Linked DNA regions of Homo sapiens: all the other regions are linked to region 4. Evidence: promoter capture Hi-C in 16 types of primary human blood cells and fetal thymus (Javierre and others, 2016). All regions are on one chromosome and are shown on one strand. The core of a region is centred on a gene start or on the middle of the fragment in contact, and the rest is flanking DNA. Distances in the headings are between cores, read along the strand shown. Region 1 holds the start of SPACA6-AS1 (SPACA6 antisense RNA 1). Region 2 overlaps ZNF175 (zinc finger protein 175). Region 3 overlaps ETFB (electron transfer flavoprotein subunit beta). Region 4 holds the start of ZNF444 (zinc finger protein 444).

Region 1 (5,779 bases), core at 3,275-5,774, 4.4 Mb after region 4:
ATCCAGACACCATCTCTAAACAAATTTTTATAAATTAGCCAGGTGTGATGGTGTGCTTGTAGTCTTAGCTACTCAGGAAGCTGAAGTGGGAGGATGGTTGAGCCCAGGAGTTCAAGGCTGTAGTGAGCTATGATTGCACCACTGCCCTCCACCCAGCCTGGGCAATAGAGCAAGACCCTGTCTCTAAAAAACAAAGACAGAGAAGGTGGTGCCATCTTATTGTTCCCCTCATCCATCCTGCTGCCTGAAAATTTGTTTTGATGGTTGGAGCTCTAGCAGCCACACGGGACCATGAGGACAAGGGCTACTCCCTGGGATATTAAGTCTTGAAGGAGCTTGGATCCCCAAGAAATGGAGGTGCCATATTAGCCTTAAGTGCCTACCACAAGACTTACTTTATATAGGAGAGCTAAACTTCCTACGGGCTTAAAGCCATTGCAGGGACAGGGGAAAGCGTCCTCTGTGATTAAAGCCATACAAAAAGGGAGGGAACTGAGGATATTGGCAAGAAAGTGCCTAAAACAATGATCACTGGATATACACTTGGAGAGAGGAAGCACTGATGCCCAGAAGTGGGTTCCAAATGAGGACCCAGTGGTCTCTCCTTGGCCACAGAGCAGGAGTGTGGTCTCAAGATGGCAGGATGATCAGGAGCATGTGGTCAGACTGGGGTGCACAAATGAGAGGCCAGGATGTTGGAGGAGTCATCCAAAGAATTTCTATGTGCCAAATCAAATGACTCATGGGCAGGGTGAGCGTGGGATATACCAAGTAAGCCATGGTGGCCGGGTGGGCTTATACTCCACCAGGGGAGTATAAGTGGAGTGAAATGTTCCGAACAGGCCAAGTGGCCTGGGTTATAGCAAGCGGGCCATAAGGCGGCATGGGTGGGTGTTGTAAAGTCTCCCCCAGAGGAGTTGCATATCGTCAGGAGCTCTGACCCTGGTTCAGATCATCTGGGTCTGAGTCCTGGTGCTTCCGTCTTGAGCACACCTGTCTCAGATCTGAGTATCAATCACAAGCCCTCCTCCCCATGCGACCTTGGCCAAGTGACTTCACCTTCCTGATCCTCAGTTTCCTCATTCATCAAATGAGGATGACAGCAGTGTCTGTATCACAGAATTAGCGGGAGGATGAGACGCCATACAACCATGAAAGCATCCTCATCCCCACTCTTCCATGGCATCGTTTAATGATTGTATGAGATGGTGTCACTAAGTGTGTAGAATGGCTCCTAGCACGTAGTGAGTGTTAGAGAAGGCTGGCAAACTTAGGATTGCCATCTCCAAGTTTGAGGTGGGGAAACGGAGGCATGGGGAGATTAGAGAAGTGGTCCAAAATCACATGGCTACATTTGACCCTGGTGGTCAGGCTCCAGAGCCTCCACACCTAATCGCTGCATACATAATCTCCACACCTAATACTGCATCCAGTCTGTACCACGTCATCTACTCCATGGTTTATATATACATATATACAAATAAGATCACCTGGGATCACCAAGAGGCAGTCAGCCTACATCAGCTCCTCCATCTCCCTGCTGCTCCCTCTGGAGGAGACGCAAAAGTCATCCTTGATTCTTCCCATTGCCCTCACCCACCTACATCTGGTCCAGTCTATCTCCAAATATATCCTGGGCCTACTGTTCTTGTCCAGAAGAGCCCAGCGTTCCCTTCTGATAAGCGGGGCTATAAAACCCAGCCTCACAGGGCCGGTAGAGGATATCCTTTAGGAAGATACTTAATATGAATGACTCTGTGTATGGCAAACACAGCCTTTTGCACGCATGGGCAAGCCTGGCACACGGTCAAATCCTTATGCCCACCCCACTCTGCTCAGACCTCATCTGGGCCCCCGGACCACTGTGACTGGTCCAAGCCACCATGGGCCGGCTTCTCACTGGAAGTCTTCCTGCCTTTGTCCAGGCCCCATACAGCTGCCAGAGAGATCTTGTTAAATCCCAGGTCAGATCCTGTCTCTCTGTGTAAAGTCCTCCAACAGCTCCCCCATTTCAAGAGCAAAAAACAAAAGTCATTCCAAGGGCCTACAACAGTGATTCTCAAAGAGTGTTCCCGGAGCAGCAGCATCAGCATTCCCTGGGATCTTGACAGAAACGTCCATGTCTGGGCCCTACCTTGGACCTCCTGGTCAGAGGTGGTGAAGCCCAGAAATCTGCATTTTAAATAAGCTCCCAGGGGATTCTGATGTATGCTGGGGCTTGAGAACCCCCTGTCTATGAGGATCTACAGGAGGTGGCCCCTTGCTATCTCTCTGATTTCACCTTTACTCCAGCCCCACGGGCCCCAGGGTCTTGCACTGGCTATTCCCTGTGGCCTGAAAATCTCTTTCCACAGATTATCTGCATGGCTGTCGCTGTCACTGTCACCTTGCTCAGGTCTTTGCTCAACTGGACCCTGTCATTTCCACCTGCCCTGACCAACCTATTTAAAATTATCACCCAGCCAGGTACGGTAGTTCATGCCTGTAATCCCAGCACTTTGGGAGGCTGAGGTGGGAAGATCACTTGAGCCCAGGAGTTCAAGACCAACCCATGCAACATAACAAGACACCATCATTACAAACTATTTAAAAAATTAGCCAAAGATGGTGGCGCACACCTATAGTCCCAGCTACTTGGGAGGCTGAGGCAGGAAGATCGCTTGAGCCCAGGAGTTTGAAGCTGTAGTGAGGTATAATCACATCACTGCAATCCAGCCTGGGTGACAAAGTGAGACCCTATCTCAAAAAAACAAAAAAACTATCACCCCTTTCTCTTCCCCTTCTCTGTTTTCCTCCATGGCAGGGATCACCAACTGACATACTAAGATACTAAGATATTTTATCGATTATGTTTATTGTCTATCTCCCCAGACTCCACCCCAATATAAGCAACCCGAGGACAGGTGGTTTGCAGTTTTGGTCACAGCGGTTGTTCCTGGCACATTCAGTAAGTATAATTGAACGTATTGCACCAGCTTCTCCCGGCCTCCAGACTCTCCCTCTGGTCCATCTTTGACACGACCCCAGAGGGTTCTTTCTACACCCAGAGCTGCCCCTACTTCTTCACTGCTCACACTCCTGCTGCAGCTCCCCAGCGCCCTGAGGAAAGAGACTCAACACTCTCTGACTTTTCTGCTGAACTCTGCACCTAGGTATCTAGCTGCCTCCTAAACGTCCCTGGGACCCCTCAAAGTCACTGCCTTCTAACCCAGCTTATCATCTGCCCCCGGCTCTTTCTCTCAGGCTCCTTATTTCGGTGATGACCCACCGCCCAACAGGCACAGAGCAGGACCTGTCTCAGATGCTGTTCTCTATGCTTCCCAAAACAGCCCAGCAGACCTAACTCTCTGGCCCTGGCCCTTCTCCACCTTCACGGCCCCAGCCCCCACTCGGGCCTCCGCTCTGGCCTGGACCCTCACCCAGCCTCTTCTCTCTCCCCTCCAAGTTTGTCCCCCATGCGGCCCCACAGAAGGCTTCCATTCCCAGATCCAAAGGTTCCTCATCTTTTCAAAAGCTTCTGTAACAAGGCAGCCTATGTGGGGAGAAAGGGCATTTCTTGGAATCCTGCACACCCCCACATGGAGAGGTTTAGGGCCTCAGGTCTCCCTTTAGGGTGGAGATGGGGAGAGCCACAGCTGAGGCCTTCTCCAGGCTGGCCCTGGATGCCCCCTGGGTGGATGGGAACCTTCCCTCTTCCGGGATTGTTGACAGGACGCTTGGAGGGCAAAGCAGGAAGCAAAAGGAGCGACTGTGGGTGTGGGAATAAGCCCTGAGCTCCTGGACCTAAGAGGAAGCCAGTTTATTCTATAGCGCAGGGCTCTGTAACTCCTGCAACTCCGAGCCTCCACAGTTCCAGGGTCTGGCACCTCGTGGGGATCATGGCCATGGTGATCAGGCATGATTACCGCCCATGCTGCCCATCGGCATTGCGTGGCCCCCAGCCCTGAGGTCTCTTCGCACAGCCACACACCTCAAGGCTGTCACATGTGCCTGTCTCACCAGGACAGTCACACCTTGTCTCTTTTCACTGCTGTCACCTGAGTGATCCACTCTGCTGTTCCTGTTTTCCCGCCCTCTAATTGCCTCACACCTCAAAAATGTGGAATCACTTTATAAGAAATCTGTGTGTGTGTGTGAGTGTGAGTGTATGTCTCTGAGCGTGTCTGTGTGCGAGTGTGTGTGTGTTCTATCCTAGAGGAAGATGCCTTCCCTAAGATCAGGCTCATCAGGCAGCCCCAACCCCTGCACTGAGCTCCATGGCCATCCTAGGAGGCAAGAAGATTGTCCCACTTTACAGATGGGTAAGTTGAGGCCAGGAGAGGGGCAGTGACACACCCAGAACTTCATAGCCAGTAAGAGTGTGAGCCATGCAGCCATGGCAGAACCTATGCCTACCCGACCCCATCTGGACTTCCAGCTCTAGGCAATTTCTGCAGCGTCCCTTCCCCCTCACCACCTTCAGCCCCTGGCTCTTAGAGCTGCCTTCAGCCTTCGTTTGGACAAGTAGCTGAGCTCAATGTCTTCCCAGCTTTCCCCTCCCGGATCACTGCCCAACTCTGGGGGCCTCCTTCCTCTGCCCTGGGCCCTCCCACATACCCATTTCTTAGGGGCTCCAAGTCCACATCTCCCATCTCCCCATCCCCACACACTCACCCTGGGCAGCAGCCAGCTCCTGCAGGGCATGGGTCATCTGGGTGAAGGTGTCATGCAGGTGGCTTCTCTCATCATAGTCTGGCGGTGAGGGAGGGAGCAGGGGCTGGGGGAGGCAGCTCCCCGCAACACCATGTCCCTAATGCGAACATTCTGTTTCTGAGTCTCTGCCCTCCCAAGTCTGTATCCTCCCCTCTCTGACTCTTTGCCCCACAGTCGCTATGCTTCCTGAGTCCCTCCCAAGTCTCTATCCTCCCTGAGTCTCTGCCCCCGACCAGTCGCTATCCTGCTTCCCCTAGTCTCTGCCTCATCTCTGTCCTCCTCTCTCTGGGTTTCCATCCTCTTTGAGTCTCCATCTTCCACCCTCTGAGTCTCCATCCTCCCCTCTCTGGGTCTCTATTCCCTCTCCAGTCTCCAACCTCTCCTGACTCTCCATCCTCCCCTTTCTATGAGTCTCCATCCTCCTGACTCTCCATCCTCCCGAGTGTCCATCCTCCCCTCTCTGACTCTCCATACTCCTGAGTCTCCATCTTTCCGAGTCTCCATCTTCCTCTCTCTCTGAGTCTCCATCCTCCCCCTCTCTGAGTCTCCATCTTCCCCTCTCTGACTCTCCATCCTCCCCTCTCTGAGTCTTTGCCCTGCTGTCTTCCCCTGTCTGTGTCTCTCTGTCCCTAAGTCTCTGTTGTTCTCATGGTCTTTGAGCCTTTCTCCTCTGACTGTTTCTCTCTGTCTGTCCCTCAGCCTGACCCTCTGGGCCTCTCCTGCCCTCCCTCTGCACCTTCCCCAGGACACTGATGAAGTGTGGATGGTCTCCTCACTGATTTCGGTGTCAGAGAGGCCCTGGAAGGCGGCCGTGAAGGCCTCCTCACACTCTTCAAGCTTGGGGCTCCGCATCCCAACAAACATCTGGCAGATGCGGAGGCGCTCAGAGTAGGTTGTGAAGCAGAGGAGACAGGCCCAGGCGGGCACCCTGAAGACAGCCAGGGCCAGCAGGGCAGACGGGACGGCACTGGCCAGAGCCAGCAGGGCCATCGTGTGGGTCTCAAGGCCAGGGGAGAAGCTAGTAACCTTTATGAAGTCACCACAGGGCGGGGGAAGGGCCAGTGGTCTGGGGTCAGAGGTCAGGTTT
Region 2 (6,044 bases), core at 2,497-4,996, 4.6 Mb after region 4:
ATTACATTTTAAAATATCTCAAATATCCTTAGGTAAGATAGTTCAATCATTAAACAAAAACATCATGTCATTAAAAGGAGTATTCATATCTAAAAGCTCTTAAAAATTTTTTAAGGCAGTAATGATTATCGGAGGGCTAGAAAATAAAGTTGAGAAATTCTTCCAGAAAGAGGGTCCAAAACCAAAGAAATAGAAAATGACAGAGCATAAAAACCCTTTTAAATGGAGACTAACAGCTTAAAAATAAAGAGTTTCAGGATTTGAGAGCAGAGAGACTATATGTGTGTGGTAAGGAAGTAGTATATGGGGTGTTTTAGGAAGAAAAAAATGATTTCCAACCTATGAACCCAGGCAAAGATCAACTTAGTGTGAGGGTAAATCAAGTCATTTTCCGTGACATCTTTCTATTAAATATGCAAATATATGATCTTTGCTTTTTGGCGTGACATTTTCATATCATTCATTTTCATATCATTTCACTTTCATGTCATGCTCATATATGTAAACCTCTCAGGTCTTTTGTTTTCGTTTTTGTTTTTTGAGACAGGATGTCACTCTGTCACCCAGGATGGAGTGCAGTGGTGCCATCACAGCTCACTGCAGCCTCAACCTCCTGGGTCAAGTGATTCTCCTATTCTTAAGTTTAGTCTCCGTTATCTGAACAGACATGTTCAGATAAGTTCTCACAGGATTTACTGCCGTGTACCGTCCCCAAGAACTCCTAGGGGATGCACTTTCACGAAATGAGAGTAACGGTAAACCGTGGAAGAGAAAGCCAAAGGATTCAAGAAAGGATTCAAGACACAAGGAACTGGACACTTGACAGAGAAAAAAAGAATTCCCAGGTGATGGTGAACACAGCACCATGAGAAGACAGCGTGAGGCGCCAGGAGAACAGCCAGGTCCAATCGCATCAAGACAAAAAAGCAATAGGAAAGGTTTCCTCAAGGAGATGGCATTGACAGCCCCAACCCTCAAGCAAACTGCCTGCCTTCAATCCCAGGCTGGCTGCTTGCTGACTATGTAAACTTGAGCCACTTATTTCATTCTGTGCCTCAGTCTTCTTGTCTGTAAAGGGGGGATAATGGCAGCAGTACCTCGCAAAGTTATGAGGATTAAAACTGTTCCTGAAGGCCGGGTGTGGTGGCTCATGCCTGTAATCCCAGCACTTTGGGAGGCCGAGGCTGGCGGATCACCTGAAGTCAGGAGTTTGAGACCAGCCTGCCCAACATGGTGAAACCCTGTTTCTACTAAAAATATAAAAATTAGCCAGGCGTGGTGGCAAGTGCCTGTAATCCCAGCTACTCAGGAGAGTGAGGCAGGAGAATGGCTTGAACCCAGGAGGAGAGGTTGCAGTGAGCCAAGATCGCGCCATTGCACTCCAGCCTGGGAGACAAGAGCGAAACTCTGTCTCAAAAAAAAAAAAAAACAAAAAAAAAAACTGTCCCTGAAATAGCGAGGGTTTGCAATTACCTAGTAACAAATTCAATTTATGAAGACAGTGTGTACACACTTGGAGAAAATGGTATAATACATTAACATGTATATAGGCAAGTAAATAATCCATAAAATTGTGTGCTCCAGGGAAAAACCGTAAGTTATGCAGGCAGAGAGTTATCAGGGTGTCTATACAGGCAGCTCTGAATATAGTTTACACAGTCATAATCACAAACAAGGAAGATTGACCTGATCAGAATCTGAACCAGTTCTAGAGAAGGATGGGCAAGGAAAGCAGGTGTTGGGGGTGAAAGTATGAGGAAGCGGGTAAAAGCAAACCTTTTAATGACATGTTTCTTAATTAATTAACGTGTTAATTAACAATCCAAGAGGCAGCAATATAAGCATGTCACTAAAAGATTAGGAGGTAAATGCCAAAATAATTAGCTAAAAATGTAAAATGTGATTGCCTGGGAGGAGCTGGAACTTTGGTAAAAATATAGCAAGTGACAGCCCTTTTAAAAGATTACAGGCTTCACAAAACCATCTGATCCTCTTTCCTATGTTCAAACAAAACTAAAACCTACTTTCAAAGGAAAAAGTAACAAAAAGTATTTACAAACATATGCAAAAAGGACCTTAGGTTATTACTGTGTAAGAACTCTCTTGGGACACTGAGGCAGGCGGATCACGAGGTCAGGAGATCAAGACCATCTTGGCTAACATGGTGAAACCTCATCTCTACTAAAAATACAAAAAAATTAGCCAGCAGTGCTGTCAGGCGCCTGTACTCCCAGCTATTCAGGAGGCTAAGGCAGGAGAACGGCGTTAACCCGGGAGGTGCAGCTTGCAGTGAGCAGAGATTGCGCCACTGCACTCCAGCCTGCGCTTCAGAGCGAGACTCCGTCTCAAAAAAAAAAAAAAAAAAAAAAAAACCTCTCTAAAAATCCGGAGGCTAAACCAAACCAAAATATAAATCAAAAGGTAAGAAAAAGTAACTCACTAAAGACAAGTAATTGACCAATAAAATTATGAAAAAAAAGCCTGTTTGTAAACAAAGTAATGCAAATTAAAACACTATACTATCTTTATTTCCATCACATTAGAAAAGATAAAAATAACAAAATAAAAATAGTACTGTCCAGAGCAGAGGGAAATACACACCACAAAGAGAAGATAATGTGCATGGTACTGGGATATACTCTGACATGAATTCAGACACTGATGGAAAATCTGAATTAGCGACAGCAGTATTGATTCAAATGATAAACTGGAAATCAGGTCAAGCAGAAAAAAAATTTCATTGTTAAAAAAGGAAAAAAGCTTATATTGAACATGTGTCCTAAAACGCTAAACTTGAAGATGTTCTGAACACGCAAGTTGACCAACATCAATGCAAATGAGAGAAACGTTTGTGCATCTGCACTGCTGTCACAAAGACTTAGACAATTTCATGTTTTAAACTTGTTTTGTTTTGAGACAGGGTCTCACTCTATTGCCCAGGCTGGAGTGTAGTGTCATGATTGCAGCTCACTGCAACCTTGACCGCCTCAAGCTCAGGTGATCCTCCCACGTCAACGTACTCAGTAGCTGGGACTACAGGTGCATGCCACCACACCTGGCTAATTTTTGTATTTTTGTAGAGTCTCGCCATGTTGCCCAGGCTGGTCTCCAACTCCTGGGCTCAAGTGATCCGCCCGCCTCGGCCTCCCAAAGTGCATGAGCCACTGTGCCCCACCTAAACTTGTATGTTTCAATTTTTCTTTTAAGAACGACTTTTAAATATTTGGGGTATTTACAATTTTGAAAATGATTTATATGTGCAATTTATTTTGTGTTAATGTTCCCTTCTTTTAATACTTTCTATTATCAAATGTTTCTAGCAGGTTGAGATGATTTTAACAGGTTACTGAAATATATAATCTCACAATATATTGGTTCAGGATAATAACACACATATTTATTATACTTTTTTTAAAAAACAGAACATCTCTGTAAATTTGGTTATAAACCCATCACAGAACAATGGTACACTGTTTACTATTATAGTCACATACTATTTAAAGACTTGTAAATAAAGCATCAAGAGATACACAGAATAATTTAGGATTTCAGGAAATCTTGACTATACCAAGAATTCTGATTTCTTGTTACCAAATCCTGACTATTTCTATCTGTGGGCAATCTGGAAACACTGTTTTCCAGCATTTTTTGTTCACCTTTTTAAACAGGAAAAAGTGTTTAAAAGCCTCTTCACATGGTCCTTAAAAGCCTCTTCTCACTCTACCTCCCTGTGACTATTTAAATTACAAAGGAAGGAGATTTTGCCGCACCTTATGAGAACAGAGGAAAAACGGGCCAAACCCCATGGACCAAGCAAGGAATTTGGTGGGGGGGACCACTTGAAATTTTTCAAAGACCCAGTGGTGGATGAAGGAGCAGAACCAGTGCTTAGCAGGAAAGAGTCAGCTTTTCCATCCTATGACTGGGGCTTCTGATCAGACCAGGGACTACAGTTTCTTCTTTCTTGACCCAAGGCCAACCCTCTACTATCCTCTTTTATCAGCCAGTTCATGGTTTCCTCTAGAACACAGATAGCCTATGAATGTGGAAACATCAGCCTCTGTGGTCCTCGCTTGACAGGAGGCTCAAGACTGACTCAGGAGCAGGGAGCCCAGACCTGCTGCATCCTGTGTCTGCCCTCACGTTCTGGAGAACTATCCCCAGGGCTGCCCCTGTTTACCTCGCAAGATCCATCCTGCTTCTCTGGACCCAGGACCTGAGGCTTCTGGGATAAATTCACATCAGCAGGCATCTCCACTCTGGGCTTCTACTCTCGGTCTCTCTTGCTGACAACTCCACTTTTCCCAGGAGCCAGAAGCTGGATAGGTGTTTGGATTTTCCAACCAGGGACACGGCGGAGAGTCGTACTGGGCTATGAAGAGAGATCCTGCAGCCTCAATGATGTGGCCTGACCTGGGGGTTCTGCAGAAGCCTTGGAAAAGCAATGAGTACATGGTCACTCATTCAACATTCACTCCACAAATATTTCCTGAGGGCACTGAGGTGAAGTCACTGTGTCAGACATTGGAGTAGACAAAGTTCAGAAAGCCCAACTCTAGTTATTAGTCAGGGTTAAAAATAAAGACTGAGTCTGGACTAAATGGTGAATTCATTGCAGCTTTGCCACATTTTCACTGTGAGAATATGAAAATATTACTTTAGTTGTAGTTTCCAAAATGAAAATGCAGGTATTTATCACAGATGTTGGGAAACTTAACCAAGATGAAGCTTGTCAAGTCCTCAGTGCCTGCCTGGCACGTGATAAATATGAATTAAAAAAAGAAAGTTGTCAATTTAATTGTCAGCTAAATATCATGGGCATTATCATACCCATTTTGAGGATGAGGATAATGAGGCTGTGTGCTGTTACATAATTTGCCTGAAGGTTACTCAGTCTGTAAATGGAAAAACAGGGAATCAGCCCCACATCTGCCTTGTTCTAAACTGTACACTGTCTCCACTATCTCATGTACCCATACGTGGCCAGCTTCCAGAAACACCATTTCCTCTTTCTGTTGCCTTCATAGAACTCAGGCCGGGAGGTGGCTCTGTCTGGTGTACCTATTCTGAGCTTCTGGACTTTTCAGTCCCCGTCCATAATACACCACACACAGACCAGCCTCTTCTGACTAGAGCTAAAACTTAAAATCACTGTCCCAATCCCCATCTTGACACAGAAAATTTGCAGACATGCATCAGGGCCTCCAGTTACCATTTCTTGCCTGTCCACAATAAGTTGCCCCCACCGCACCTGAATGCAATCACTGACAGGACTGACTTTCAGAAATCCCCAATGAGTGTACTACAGGGCTGCCAGAAAGTTCCAAAATGCCTCCCAGTCACTGACATGGCACAGGCTTCTGAAATCTTTACTGCCCTGATAGCCAAGAAATGTTTCCCAGCGAGCACAATTTTCTGGTTTCCATAAAACGACAAATAATCCCCAACATAGGGGTCCAAATGAAATGCCCCAATAGGAAACCATCATCGATGTGCTCAACTGTCAATTACTGATCCTTACCATGTCCAAGGGACCCAAGAAGAGGCCAACACTGACCCACCCACCAATCCCTGAAGGACCCCAACACTCACTGCCTAGAAAGCAATGCATTCACCCTCACAAATCCCCATCATTGACCCCCTACGCCTCCAGTCAACTGGCTGCCATAGGCTACCCCTGGCAACCCCACTCTACTGATTCCTATAGGTTGCCCATCACTGGTCCCCTGAGAGTGTTACAGTGTGATCCTCAAAGTCCTCCAACCTCTGAAGCTCTTGGCTGCCAATCAATCACTGACTCCCCTAGTCCCACGGACAGTGAATCCCTTCCCTGAACGTCCTCCAGCACCATCCGCAAAGGCGCTCTTAAGATGCACGTTCACTGTCCTCAAGTTAGCAAGTTTCGTGGACCAATATAAAATCCGATATTAAAGTACACTTGGAATTTAAGTCACAAAAATACTACAAGCAGAAAATAAGCAAGAAAAGAGGGAAAATTAACAGGCTAATTATCCAACTAAAATTAGCAAACGCCACTTACCCCA
Region 3 (5,194 bases), core at 194-2,693, 4.8 Mb after region 4:
GGTGAGACCTTGTCTCTACTAAAAATACAAAAAATTAGCCAGGCGTGGTGGCAGGCGCCTGTAGTCCCAGCTACTGGGGAGGCTGAGGCAGGAGAATCGCTTGAACCCAGAAGGTGGAGTTTGCAGTGAGCCAAGATCATACTACTGCACCCCAGCCTGGGCAACAGAACAAGACTCTGTATCAAAAAGAAAGAGAAAGAGAGAGAGAGAGAGAGAGAGAAAGAGAGAAAGAAAAGAGAAGAGAAGAAAATCCCTCTTGCCTGCAGTGGACAACAAATAGGAAGACTGGCTCTCCTAACACCGTGGGCACACGTAGCCTCTTTCAGAGTCTCACAGTTCCCAAGACAGATTTGGGGTTAGACCCGTGGTCCTGCCACTTCCATGCTCAGTGGCCCTGGCCAAGGTACTTGGCCTCTCTGTGCCTCAGTTGCCTCATCTGTAAAATGAGAGGTAATGGCAGTAACCAACCTCACAGGCTACTAGGATGGTCAAACGAGTTAATGCATATAAAACCCTTGACTCGTTGTCTGCATGGGTCAGTGCTGCTTTTAAAAAAATTTTTTTTTTCTTTTCTTTTTTTTTTTTTGAGATAGAATCTGGTCTGTCACCCAGGCTGGAGTGCATTGATGTGATCCCTGCTCACTGCAACCTCCACCTCCCGGGTTCAAGTGATTCTCCTCCCTCAGCCTCCCAACTAGCTGGAATTACAGGCATGTGCTAAAACGCTCGACTAATTTTTGTATTTTTAGTAGAGATGGGGTTTTACCATGTTGGCCAGGCTGGTCTCGAACTCCTGACCACAAGTGATCCACCCACCTCAGCCCCACAAAGTGCTGGGATTACAGGTGTGAGCCGCCACGCCCAGCTTTGAGGCTGTTTTTGATATTGGTGGATATGTCGTCTCTTTAAGAGAAAGCCAGCACTTAATGCTGAATGATTTACCTCAATTATAAAACTTTTTTTTTTTCTTTTTGAGACAAGGTCTAGCTCTGTCACCCAGGCTAGAGTGGTACAGTCACAGCTCGCTGCAGCCTCGACCCTCCTGGGTTCAAGCCGTCCTCCCACCTCAGCCTCCTCAGTAGCTGGGACTACAGGTGCACGCCACCATGACCTGCTAATTTTGTTTTTTGGTAGAGATGAAGTCTCTCTATGTTGCCCAGGCTGGTCTTGAAATCCTGGGCTCCAGTGATCCTCCTTCCTCAGTCTCCTAAGGTGCTGGGATTACAGGCATGAGCCATCATTATTTAAAAAACAAACAAGCTATCATTTTTCAGCCCTACCATTGTTTCCTGACTTATGTAATATAACTAAACTGTTTTTGAAGCTTAAAATCAACTCAAGCTTAATTGAGAAGATGAGCTAGTTTGTTTCCTCAGGTGTGTGTGCGTGCGTGTGTGTGTGTGTGTCTGGAAAGTTCTTACCCTTTCTCCTCAGGAGTCAGGAGCCTGGGAATCAGGAGCTTAGGGCTGGGAGTTCTGCCAGAGCAAGAGCAAGATGTGGCTTGAGGCCCTTCAGAAGCCTCCCTGACTCACAGCAAGAAGCTTGGGGCCTCTTACTGATGGGTGGATGAGGTTCTTTTCTGTCTTAAAGGGGCAACTCCTATGTTGTGTTTTTTTTTTTAAGAAAAAAGGCCAGGCACTGCGACTCACACCTGTAATCCCATCACTTTGGTAGGCTGAAGCAGGCGGATCACTTTAGGCCAGGAGTTCCAGACCAGCCTGGGAAACACGGGGAAATCCTTTCTCTACAAAAAGTAAAAAAAAAAAAATTAGCCCGGCATGATGGTGCCCGCCTGTGGTCCCAGCTACTGGGGAGGCTGAAGTGGGAGGATCACCTGAGCCCGGGAGGTGGAGGTTGCAGTAAGGCAAGGTGGCACCTCTGCACTCCAGCCTGGGCAACGAGAGAGATGAAAATAACAGTTCTTTCTCTTTCCTCTCCTCTTCCAGCTCCTTCTCCTCTTTCTCCTTTTTCTTTTTCTTTTTCTTTTTTGAGATGAGGTCTTGCTCTGTCACCCAGGTTACATGTAGTGGCATGATCACGGCTCACTGCACCCTTGACCTCCTGGGCTCAGGTGATCCTCCCGCCTCAGCCTCCTGAGTAGCTGGGACTACAGGTGTGTGCCACCATACCTGGCTGTTTTTTTTTTTTTTTTTTTGTTGTTGTTTGTTTGTTTGTTTTGAGGCGGAGTCTTGCTCTGTCGCCCAGGCTGGAGTGCCGTGGCGCAATCTTGGCTCATTACAACCTCCACCTCCTGGGTTCAAGCAATTCTCCCTGCCCCAGCCTCTGAGTAGCTGCAATTACAGGCGTGCACTACCATGCCCGGCTAATTTTTTATTTTATTTTTATTTTTAGTAGAGATGGGGTTTTGCCATGTTGGCCAGGCTGGTCTTGAACTCTTGACCTCAGGTGATCCGCCCACCTTGGCCTCCCAAAGTGCTGGGATTACAGGCATGAGCCACCACGCCCAGCTGTTTTTGTTTTTGTTGTTGTTGTTTGTAGAACCTGTTGCCCAGGCTAGTATCCAACTCCTGGGCACAAGTGATCCTCCCACCTTGGCCTCCCAAATTTCTGGGATTACAGACAGGAGCCACTGCGCCCGGTCTCAGTCCTCCATCTTTTAATGTTACCCTCTCCATGAGGCACAGCCAGAGTGGGAAGCCCCTTATGGGTCCCACCTTCTCATCTCGGATTCTGTCCTGCCTGTGGGAGGAACAGTTACACCCACAGCCCCAGAGAAAAAGGGGCAGGGAAATAGCAAGAGCATCCCAGTGTCCTCACCAGGCTCAGCTGCCACCCGAGATCTGCTCTGGCCAAGCCCTGGGTGGCGGCCACATGGGAGAAGAGGAAGAGGGCAGGCTCCAGGCCAAATGGGGCAGCTCCCTAGCAAGGCTTCTGTGGATGTCCCTGGAGGCTTTTTAAAAATTTGTGCCCCAAACCAAACTCGCCGTCTTCCCGGCTCTGGCTGATGTACTGACTGGAAGCCCCTTTTTGGTGTCATCTTCCCATCACGAACCATGGCCTGTCAGTTGCACCTCCAGAAACCTCTTGCATCTGTCTCTGCTGTCACAGCTGTCTGAGCCACTGTCACCTCTCACTTTGGTGACAAACAGCCACCCAGCTCTCTCCCCACTTCCTCTCATCCTTTTCCAATTTTCTCCACCAAGAATCCAGAATGACCTTATAAAAACTCAGGTTGGGCCAGGAGCGGTGGCTCACGCCTGTAATCCCCTGCCTTTGAGAGGCCGAGGTGGGTGGATCACCAGAGATCGGGAGTTCGAGACCAGCCTGGCCAACATAGTGAAACCCTGTCTCTATTAAAAATACAAAAAATTAGCTGGGCGTGGTGGTGGGCACCTGTAATCACAGCTACTCAGGAGGCTGAGGCAGGAGAATCGCTTGAACTGGGGAGGCAGAGGTTGCAATGAGCTGAGATCATGCCACTGCTCTCCATCCTGGACAACAGAGCAAGACTCCATCTCAAAAAAAAAAAAAAAAAGAAAGAAAGAAAAAAAGGATTGTGGTGGGCCAAGAAATAAAATAGCCCTCCAAAACAGCCAGGTTTCAATCCCTGGCACCTGAGAAGGGGAAATCACTTAGAAACAGGGTCTTTGCAGGCTGGCCATGTTGGCTTATGCCTGTAATCCCAGCACTTTGGGAGGCCGAGGAGAGCAGATCACCTGAGGTCAGGAGTTCAAGACCAGCCTGGCCAACATGGTGAAACCCTGTCTCTACTAAAAATACAAAAATTAGCCAGGCGTGGTGATGCATGCCTGTAATCCCAGCTACTTGGGAGGCTGAGGCAGGCAAATTGCTTGAACCCGGGAGGCAGAGGTTGCAGTGAGCCGAGATTTCACCACTGTACTCCAGCCTGGGCGACAGAGCGAGAGCCCATCTAAAAAAAAAAAAAAAAGAAATTAGAAACAGGGTCTTTGCAGATGTGATTAAATTAAGCATCTTGAGATGGGGGCATTATCCTGGATTATTTAGGTGGGCCCTGAATGCCATCTCAAGAGTCCTTATAAGAGAGAGACAGAGGGAGACTAGACACGCAGAGAGAGGAGAAGGCCACGTGAAGACAGAGCTGAGGATGCTGGCATTGAAGATAAAGCGATGCAGCCACAAGCCAGGGAGTGTCAGCAGAAGCTGGAGGAGGCAAGAAACGTGTTCCTCCCGGGGCCTGCAGACCCCTTGGTCTCACCCTGGTGACACTGACTTTGGACTTCTGGCCTCCAGAGCTGTAAGATTCTAAGCCACCAAATATATGGTGATTTGTTACGGCAGCCGAGAGAAACTAATAGGAGAGTGGTTAGTGGTTCACGCTACACCCTGGTCTACACCGGAAGCCTCTCTCCCTGGCACATGATGGTGTCCCCAGGATCCAGCTCAGAGCCAGGCACACAGTGGGGCCCAGGAGAGACAAAAATGATGTGCAGAAGCAAATGGGTGGGGTTTGCCACCCACCTCCCTTACCTCCCTTGTCTGTTTAGCAAAGAGGTCTTTCATGCTGGTGTTTTCCAAATTAGGTTGTGACCATGTGTGATCATGACATCCAGGCAGAGGGCTGGCATTTTTCCGAAAAAGGGTAGAAAATGTCAGAGTATGGTGTGTGTGTAGGCAGGGTCAGTATTGGTCACTGACCCTTACACTGCAGTGGCATTTGTGAAATAGGTCAGGGTCACTGGTCACGTTGTCTAAGGTGTTATCCGAGCTCGTTTCACAACCAAGAGAATTAAAGAGCATAGACCACCCAAAAGGTGAGGTTGGAGCGAAAGTTTAATAAGCAAAAGAAGAAAGCTCTCCACAGAGGAGAGGGAAGCCCAAGCGGGTTGCCATTTTTACAGTTGATTCCAAAAGCTTTTTTTTTAAAAAATTATTTATTTATTTATTTTTTATTATTATACTTTAAGTTTTAGGATACATGTGCACAACGTACAGGTTTGTTACATGTGTTTATATGTGCCATGTTGGTGTGCTGCACCCAGTAACTCGTCCTTTAGCATTAGGTATATCTCCTAATGCTATCCCTCCCCCCTCCCCCCACCCCACGACAGTCCCCGGTGTGTGATGTTCCCCTTCCTGTGTCCATGTGTTCTCATTGTTCAATTCCCACCTATGAGTGAGAACATGCGTTGTTTGGTTTTCTGTCCTTGCGATAGTTTGCTGAGAATGATGGTTTCCAGCTTCATCCATGTCC
Region 4 (5,921 bases), core at 1,163-3,662:
CCCCAGCATTCTGGCTAGCACTCAAATAAACTTTACAGGCTGATCAATCCCATGAGGTTGGTGTTACTACCCCCAAGTTGCAGCAGGAGCAAGGGGAGATGTCTTACCTAAAGTCACTCAGCTAACACGTGGCAGAGCCTGGACTTGCACATCCACAGCCAGGCCACAGCATCACCTCCCACCCCACCCATCCATCAGTTTAAGGGCTGATGAACCTGGGAGCAGGCAGAAAGACTTATCGGAAGACCCAGGCCAGATCCAAGTCTCAAAAGCCACACAGATGCCTGCTCTGCTATAAAAAAGATCCCTCTGGGACTAAGGAGGAATTTCCGCCAGAGAGCAATGCCACAGGCCATCAAGCTGACCCTGTTTGCAATCTCAGAGGTGATCACAGGTCACTACACCCTGGGCTGTCCAGAAAGTGAGCTCTCTGGGGCAGTGACCAAGTCCAGCTCTTCACTGGGTCGGTGGGGCCATCCAGCACAAGGCCTGCTCCCAAGAAAGCACATGCTGTTAAGTAAGGGCCTTCCACCATGTCAATCCACCCTACCATCCAATGAGCGCCCTGTGCTATGTGCATTCAACAGCTGTAACCCTGCTGTCTAGCTGTCTGTGTCCGCAAAGCACAGTCCAGTCCAGAGCCAGGCACCCTGGATGCCTTGAAGACAGCCACTGAGTGGCTAGTGTCTTATACTGCCCCACCCAACCTTCCCAACAGACCTGTGAGCTGGGGAGATGGGTCCCCTCTTACCATAGGGAGATGCTCAGAGAGTGAAGGAGCCACAAATGGGACCCAGATGTGACTCCAGAGTCCACACCAGTTCCACCTAGTACCCCGGCACCAGCACCCACATATGCTGGGTTAATATCATGGCTAAGAGGCTGTGGAGTCTGGCTGCCTGGCTTCAACTTCCAGCTCTGCCACTCATCAGCAGTGTGACTGTGGACGTGTGACTTACCCCCTCTGTGCTTCATTTCTCCACCTGAGACACAGGACTAACAAGAGCTCCTTCCTCTCAAGAGGCTGCTGGGAGCAGGAGTTAGAAGCAGCCTCCAAAGGCTAAGTGCTCGACAAAGACCGGTTTGTCTACTCTAGGTTCCCAACCTCGACATTAATGGCACTTGTGTCGTGGCGGGCTATCCTGTGCAACATACGATGTCTACCAGCATCTCTGCCTCTTTTCATGAGATGCCAGTAGCACTTCCCAAGTTGGAAAAACCAAAAAAAAAGTCTCCAGACATTGCCACATGTCCCCTGGGGGACAAAACCACTCCTGGTTGAGAGCCGCTGGCCCACTGGACAAATATTTACCTACGGCACAAAGGCTCTGGGGCAAATTCCAGCTCTGCCTCCTACCAGCTCTGTGTCCTTGGACGAGGTACAAGGCACCTTTTGTAATACCCTGTATCTCCATTTCGTTGACTGTAAAGTGATAGAAGGAGAACAAAAATGCTGAGAACCACACCTGGCTAGTAAGTGTCCAGTCAGACTTAGGGTTACTTTGTCGAAGTTTCCCTGCGAGGTGCCCAGGGGACACTGCTATGAACACGCACGCAGATTAAAATACTAAGTATACATTGGAATAGGCGTTAAAATCGGATATAGAGGAGGGTGACTCCATCCTGACTGGGGTAGAGGTGGCGGGGGTCAACTTCATTTGACAATAAACAGAGTTTCTAAGCACTTTACACATATTACCGAAGGTAATAATGCCTTGCAACAAGCTAAAAAGGCAGATGCTCCGCACTGAGAAAGCAGCAAAACAGAGCAACGATTCTTATCTTCAGGAATCTCACAACTCTGTAAAAGTTGCACTTGTAGAAGCAGCGCGCAAAACGAGCCACCTGCGCCGTATCTACGTTACAACAATAACCATCGTCCCCGGAAGCCCCTTCCCGCAAACCTTTCCGAAGGGGTCCGGTCCCGGCGCCCCCAGACTCCTTTGTAGGGTCCAGCTTCCCACTCAGCTTTCATCTCACAGCCCACCCTCTGCTAGGGTCCCCTTCCCCTCCCCCACCTGTCCCTCCCCCGTCCCGCCCCTCCCCCTCCCCCAGGCGCCCCTCCCCCGTCCTCTCCCTCAGCATTTCTCTCCCGCGTTCAGGACCTCGAGGATCCACGACCCCCTCCCACTATCCACCCCTCCCCCTCTCCAAGTCCCTCCCCCTCTAGTTCCCTCTCCCAGCCCCTTCCCCATCACTCAGCCCCCTTCTCCTCCCCTCCCCGCAAGTCTCCCATCTTTCCCTCCTGAGGCCCCCGGCGCCCCTCTTCCCATCCAACCTCTGGTCCCTCCCTCGTCCAACCGCCCCCACCCAATCCCTCCCTCCTTCCCCCCTCGCTCACCTCACTCTCTCAGGCGAGGCCCCCCAAGCCCCCTCACCTCCCCGCACATGCGCACAAAGCTCGCCGGGACTCCATGCCCCAGCAGGCTTTGCGCCAAACTCCCCCGTCCCCCTCCCCCAATCCCATACTCCGAGCCGCTCGTTCAGCCCAACAACTCCCCATGAAGCCCCGGCCTCACCCCGAACTACAACTCCCAGGAAGCATCGCGGCAAAGGCGGCTGCCAATTGGCCCTCGCCTGGGGACCGCCTTACTCCTGTTTGTCACCGCGTGGCGTCTTCGCCAACACTGGAACTACATTTCCCAAGATACGCGAAAGCGTCGTCTGCAGCCTATTTGGCCTTGACGGCGCAAATGTCGCGGGCTGTCTGAGCGCGACAGGCTTTGGACTACATTTCCCAGAATGCACGAGGAGGCTTCCCAGTGGTCTGCGCGCGGGCCCTGGACATGCGCAGAAGTGCCGGGAAAAAAAGAGGGAGGAGGAGGAGGAGCCATGGCGGCGTTGTTGTGGAGATCAGGGGAGGCCGGGCACCGCCGGGCATTTGGGAGGTGGGGCCTCCGGAGCTCTAGAAGCTGGCAAGCGAAGAGGAGGAGGAGGAGGAGACCAGGCTAGAGTTCTGCGCCAATCAGGAGTGCAGGCTACGTCTCCTTGACTACGGATCGCATTTTTTTTTGTCCTCCCTCTCCACCCGGGCAGAACTTAAGGGCCGATGTCGGTGCCAGGAATCAGGACGTGAGCAGGCTGCCCTCCTGTTCCGGGGTGGGCAGTGGCTCAGGAGGGGGCCAGCGCGGGGGCCTCGGTTTGGCTCTTCCTGTGTGTGAACCTGGACAGGACACCGCCCTCTCTTTAGCCTCAGTTTCCCCTGGGGTGAATTGGGGGACAGCGCTACCTGCCACGCGTCCTCGCTGTGCCCCTATTGGACAGACTACTGCCCCGTCCTGAGGCCTCAGTTTCTGCATCTCAGAACTGTGAAGAAGCATATTTGGATTTTAGAGCAGACAGACATCCTAAGAGATCAGCTGAAGTTTTTATCTAGACAGTTCCAGACCTGATTATGGCTCATACAAGCCCTACCCCAGCCCGCAGCGTATTTCCTCCTCCGTACAACAAGGATAAGAGAATCCCCCTCCCATCCTCCACCTCCCCGGCTGATCTGAAGACTCCGCGCCATAAAAACGAAGACAGTGGCTTACCCATAACAAGCATTCATTACATGGAAGTTGTTCGTCTTATATTCATAAATGAACAACTTTCCCCAGGTTTCACAAGCGATGAGTGGCTGACTCAGAACTTTGTGACCAGTTTGCCCACGGTGGCCTAATCTGCCCTGGCCCACCTGTCTACCACTGTCTTCTCCTCGTGTTTAATGAGTTCCAGTCATGCCTCCTTTCTGCTCCTAGAGCACGCTGATCTTCTTCCCACTCATATCCGATGGCCTACTTGACATCTCCTCTTGGATTTCTTAATAGGCATCTCAAACCTAAGGTGGGCAGTAGATAATTTTTCACTCTCTCCCCCACCTTGCGAAGAAATTTGTTCCTTCCCATTACTCCACCATCTTAGAAAGCAAGTCCATCTTCACCCAAATGTTGAGGCCAAAAATAGAAAAGCAGCCCTTGATTCTTTTTTCTTTTTTTTTTTTTGGTTTTTTGTTTTGTTTTGTTTTGTTTTTTGATACAGGGTCTGGCTGTGTTGCCCAGGCTGGAGTGCAGTGGTGCGATCACAGCTCACTGCAACCTCCGACTCCCAGTCTCAAGTGATTCTCATGCTGCATCCTCCTGAGTAGCCAGGACTACAGGCGTGCACCACCATGCCCAGCTAATTTTTGTATTTTTAATAGAGATGGGGTTTGCCATGTTGGCCAGGCTGGTCTCGAACTCCTGGCCTCAAGTGATCTGCCTCCTCGGCCTCCCAAAATGCTGTGATTGCAAGCGTGAACCACCATGCCCAGCCAATTCCTCTTTTTCATCACCATCCACATGCAATCTATCATCAGGTCCTATTGGCTCTGTCTTCAAAATAGATGCAGAATCTGTCCACAGCTCTCCCGTCTATGGCTACCACCTGGTTTAAGTCCCCATGGCCTCTTTAGACACTGTCATGCTTCCACTCTCGCCTCTTCTGCCTCCTGCCCCTCAGTTCCTGCTCCACACAGCGCCAAAGGGATCTTTTTTTTTTAATTGTGGTAAAATATATACAAGATAAAAATTACCATCTTAATCATTTTTAAGGTACAGTTCAGTAGCATTAAGTACATTCAAGCTAGGCCGGGTGTGGTGGCTCACGCCTGTAATCCCAGCACTTTGGGAGACCGAGGCGTGCGGATCAGAAGTTAGGAGTTCGAGACCACCCTGGCCAACATGGTGAAACCCCGTCTCTACTAAAAATACAAAAATTAGCTGGGCATGGTGGCGGGCACCTGTAATCCCAGCTACTCGGGAGGGTGAGGCCAGAGAATCTCTTGAACCTGGAAGGTGGAGGTTGCAGTGAGCTAAGATTGCACCGCTGCACTTCAGTCCGGGCAACAGAGTCAGACTCTGTCTCAAAAAAAAAAAAAAAAAAAAAAGTACATTCAAGCTGTGCAATCATCACTACTGTCCATTTCCCGAATTTTTCATCTTCCCAAATTGAAATTGTACCCATTAAATGTGAACCACCCATTCCTCTCTCCCCCGAGCTCCTGGCCAACCACCATTCTGTTATCAGTTTCTGTAATTTATTTATTTGAGACAGGGTCTGAATCTGTTGGCCAGACTGGAGTCCAGTGGCTCAGTCTTGGCTCACTGTGACTTCTGCTTCCCAGGCTCAAGGGATTCTCCCACATTGGCCTCCCGAGTAGCTGAGACTACAGGTGCACACAACCACGCCCAGCTAATTTTTTTTTTTCTTTTTTTTGTAGGGACAGCGTTTTGCCATGTTACCCAGGCTGGGTTTAAACTCCTGGTCTCAAGTGATCCACCTGCCTCAGCCTCCCAAAGTGTTGGGATTACAGGTGTGAGCCACCATGCCCAGCCCAGTTTCTGTGATTTTGACCACATTAATACTTCATGTAAGTGGAATCATACCGTATTTGTTTTTTGTGACTGACTTATTTAACTTGGCAGAATGTCCTCAAGGTTAATCCATGTTGTAGTGTATGTCAAAATCTCCTTCCTTTTAAAGATTGCCTAATATTCTGTTGCATACACAGACCATATTTTGTTTACCCATTTATCAGAGGAATTTTGTTTTTTAAGATGGAGTTTTCCTTCTCGTCACCCAGGCTGGAGTGCAATGGTTCCATCTCAGCTCACTGCAACCTCCACCTCGAGGGTTCAAGCGATTCTCCTACCTCAGCCTCCTAAGTAGCTGGGATTACAGGCGCCCGCCACCACACCCAGCTAATTTTTTTGTAATTTTAATAGAGACGGGGTTTCACCATGTTGGCCAGGCTGGTCACAAACTCCTGACCTCAGGTCATCCACCCGCCTCGGCCTCCCAAAGTGCTGGGATTACAGGCGTGAGCCACCGAAACTGGTCCCAGAGGGATCTTATTTAAACTTAAATAGGGTCATGTCACTTTTGCTTAAAACCCTCCATTG

What was found. The method cuts DNA at HindIII sites, captures the fragments that hold promoters and counts their contacts. A CHiCAGO score of 5 or more calls a contact.
Region 1: a contact is called between a fragment that was not itself captured here and the fragment with the promoter of ZNF444 in region 4, in 1 of 17 cell types (non-activated CD4 T cells). The highest score is 5.8, in non-activated CD4 T cells.
Region 2: a fragment that was not itself captured here is called in contact with the fragment with the promoter of ZNF444 in region 4 in 2 of 17 cell types (total CD4 T cells and naive CD8 T cells); the score reaches 6.4 in total CD4 T cells.
Region 3: a fragment that was not itself captured here is called in contact with the fragment with the promoter of ZNF444 in region 4 in 1 of 17 cell types (total CD4 T cells); the score reaches 6.1 in total CD4 T cells.

What each region holds. Positions count from the first base shown.
Region 1 is chr19:51,693,430-51,699,208 of GRCh38, reverse strand. SPACA6 (sperm acrosome associated 6) reads right to left here. Exons shown (of 9, transcript NM_001316972.2): 1 at 5,469-5,779; 2 at 4,654-4,731. The coding sequence starts at 5,682. It overlaps SPACA6-AS1 (SPACA6 antisense RNA 1), which reads left to right and starts at 5,753. Exons shown (of 2, transcript NR_108100.1): 1 at 5,753-5,779. The HindIII fragment of the contact is 2,015 bases long and covers 3,517-5,531 here.
Region 2 is chr19:51,571,538-51,577,581 of GRCh38, reverse strand. ZNF175 (zinc finger protein 175) reads right to left here. Exons shown (of 5, transcript NM_007147.4): 2 at 4,181-4,432. The coding sequence starts at 4,252. Among named protein-coding and RNA genes, the nearest start is that of ZNF175, 3.3 kb to the right of the region's middle. The HindIII fragment of the contact is 1,968 bases long and covers 2,763-4,730 here.
Region 3 is chr19:51,355,793-51,360,986 of GRCh38, reverse strand. The region is part of intron 1 of ETFB (electron transfer flavoprotein subunit beta); the gene reads left to right. Among named protein-coding and RNA genes, the nearest start is that of ETFB, 8.0 kb to the left of the region's middle. The HindIII fragment of the contact is 200 bases long and covers 1,344-1,543 here.
Region 4 is chr19:56,137,778-56,143,698 of GRCh38, reverse strand. It overlaps ZNF444 (zinc finger protein 444), which reads right to left and starts at 2,412. Exons shown (of 5, transcript NM_018337.4): 1 at 2,342-2,412. RefSeq lists enhancers at 2,450-2,589, 2,620-2,949. The HindIII fragment of the contact is 17,292 bases long and covers 1-5,921 here.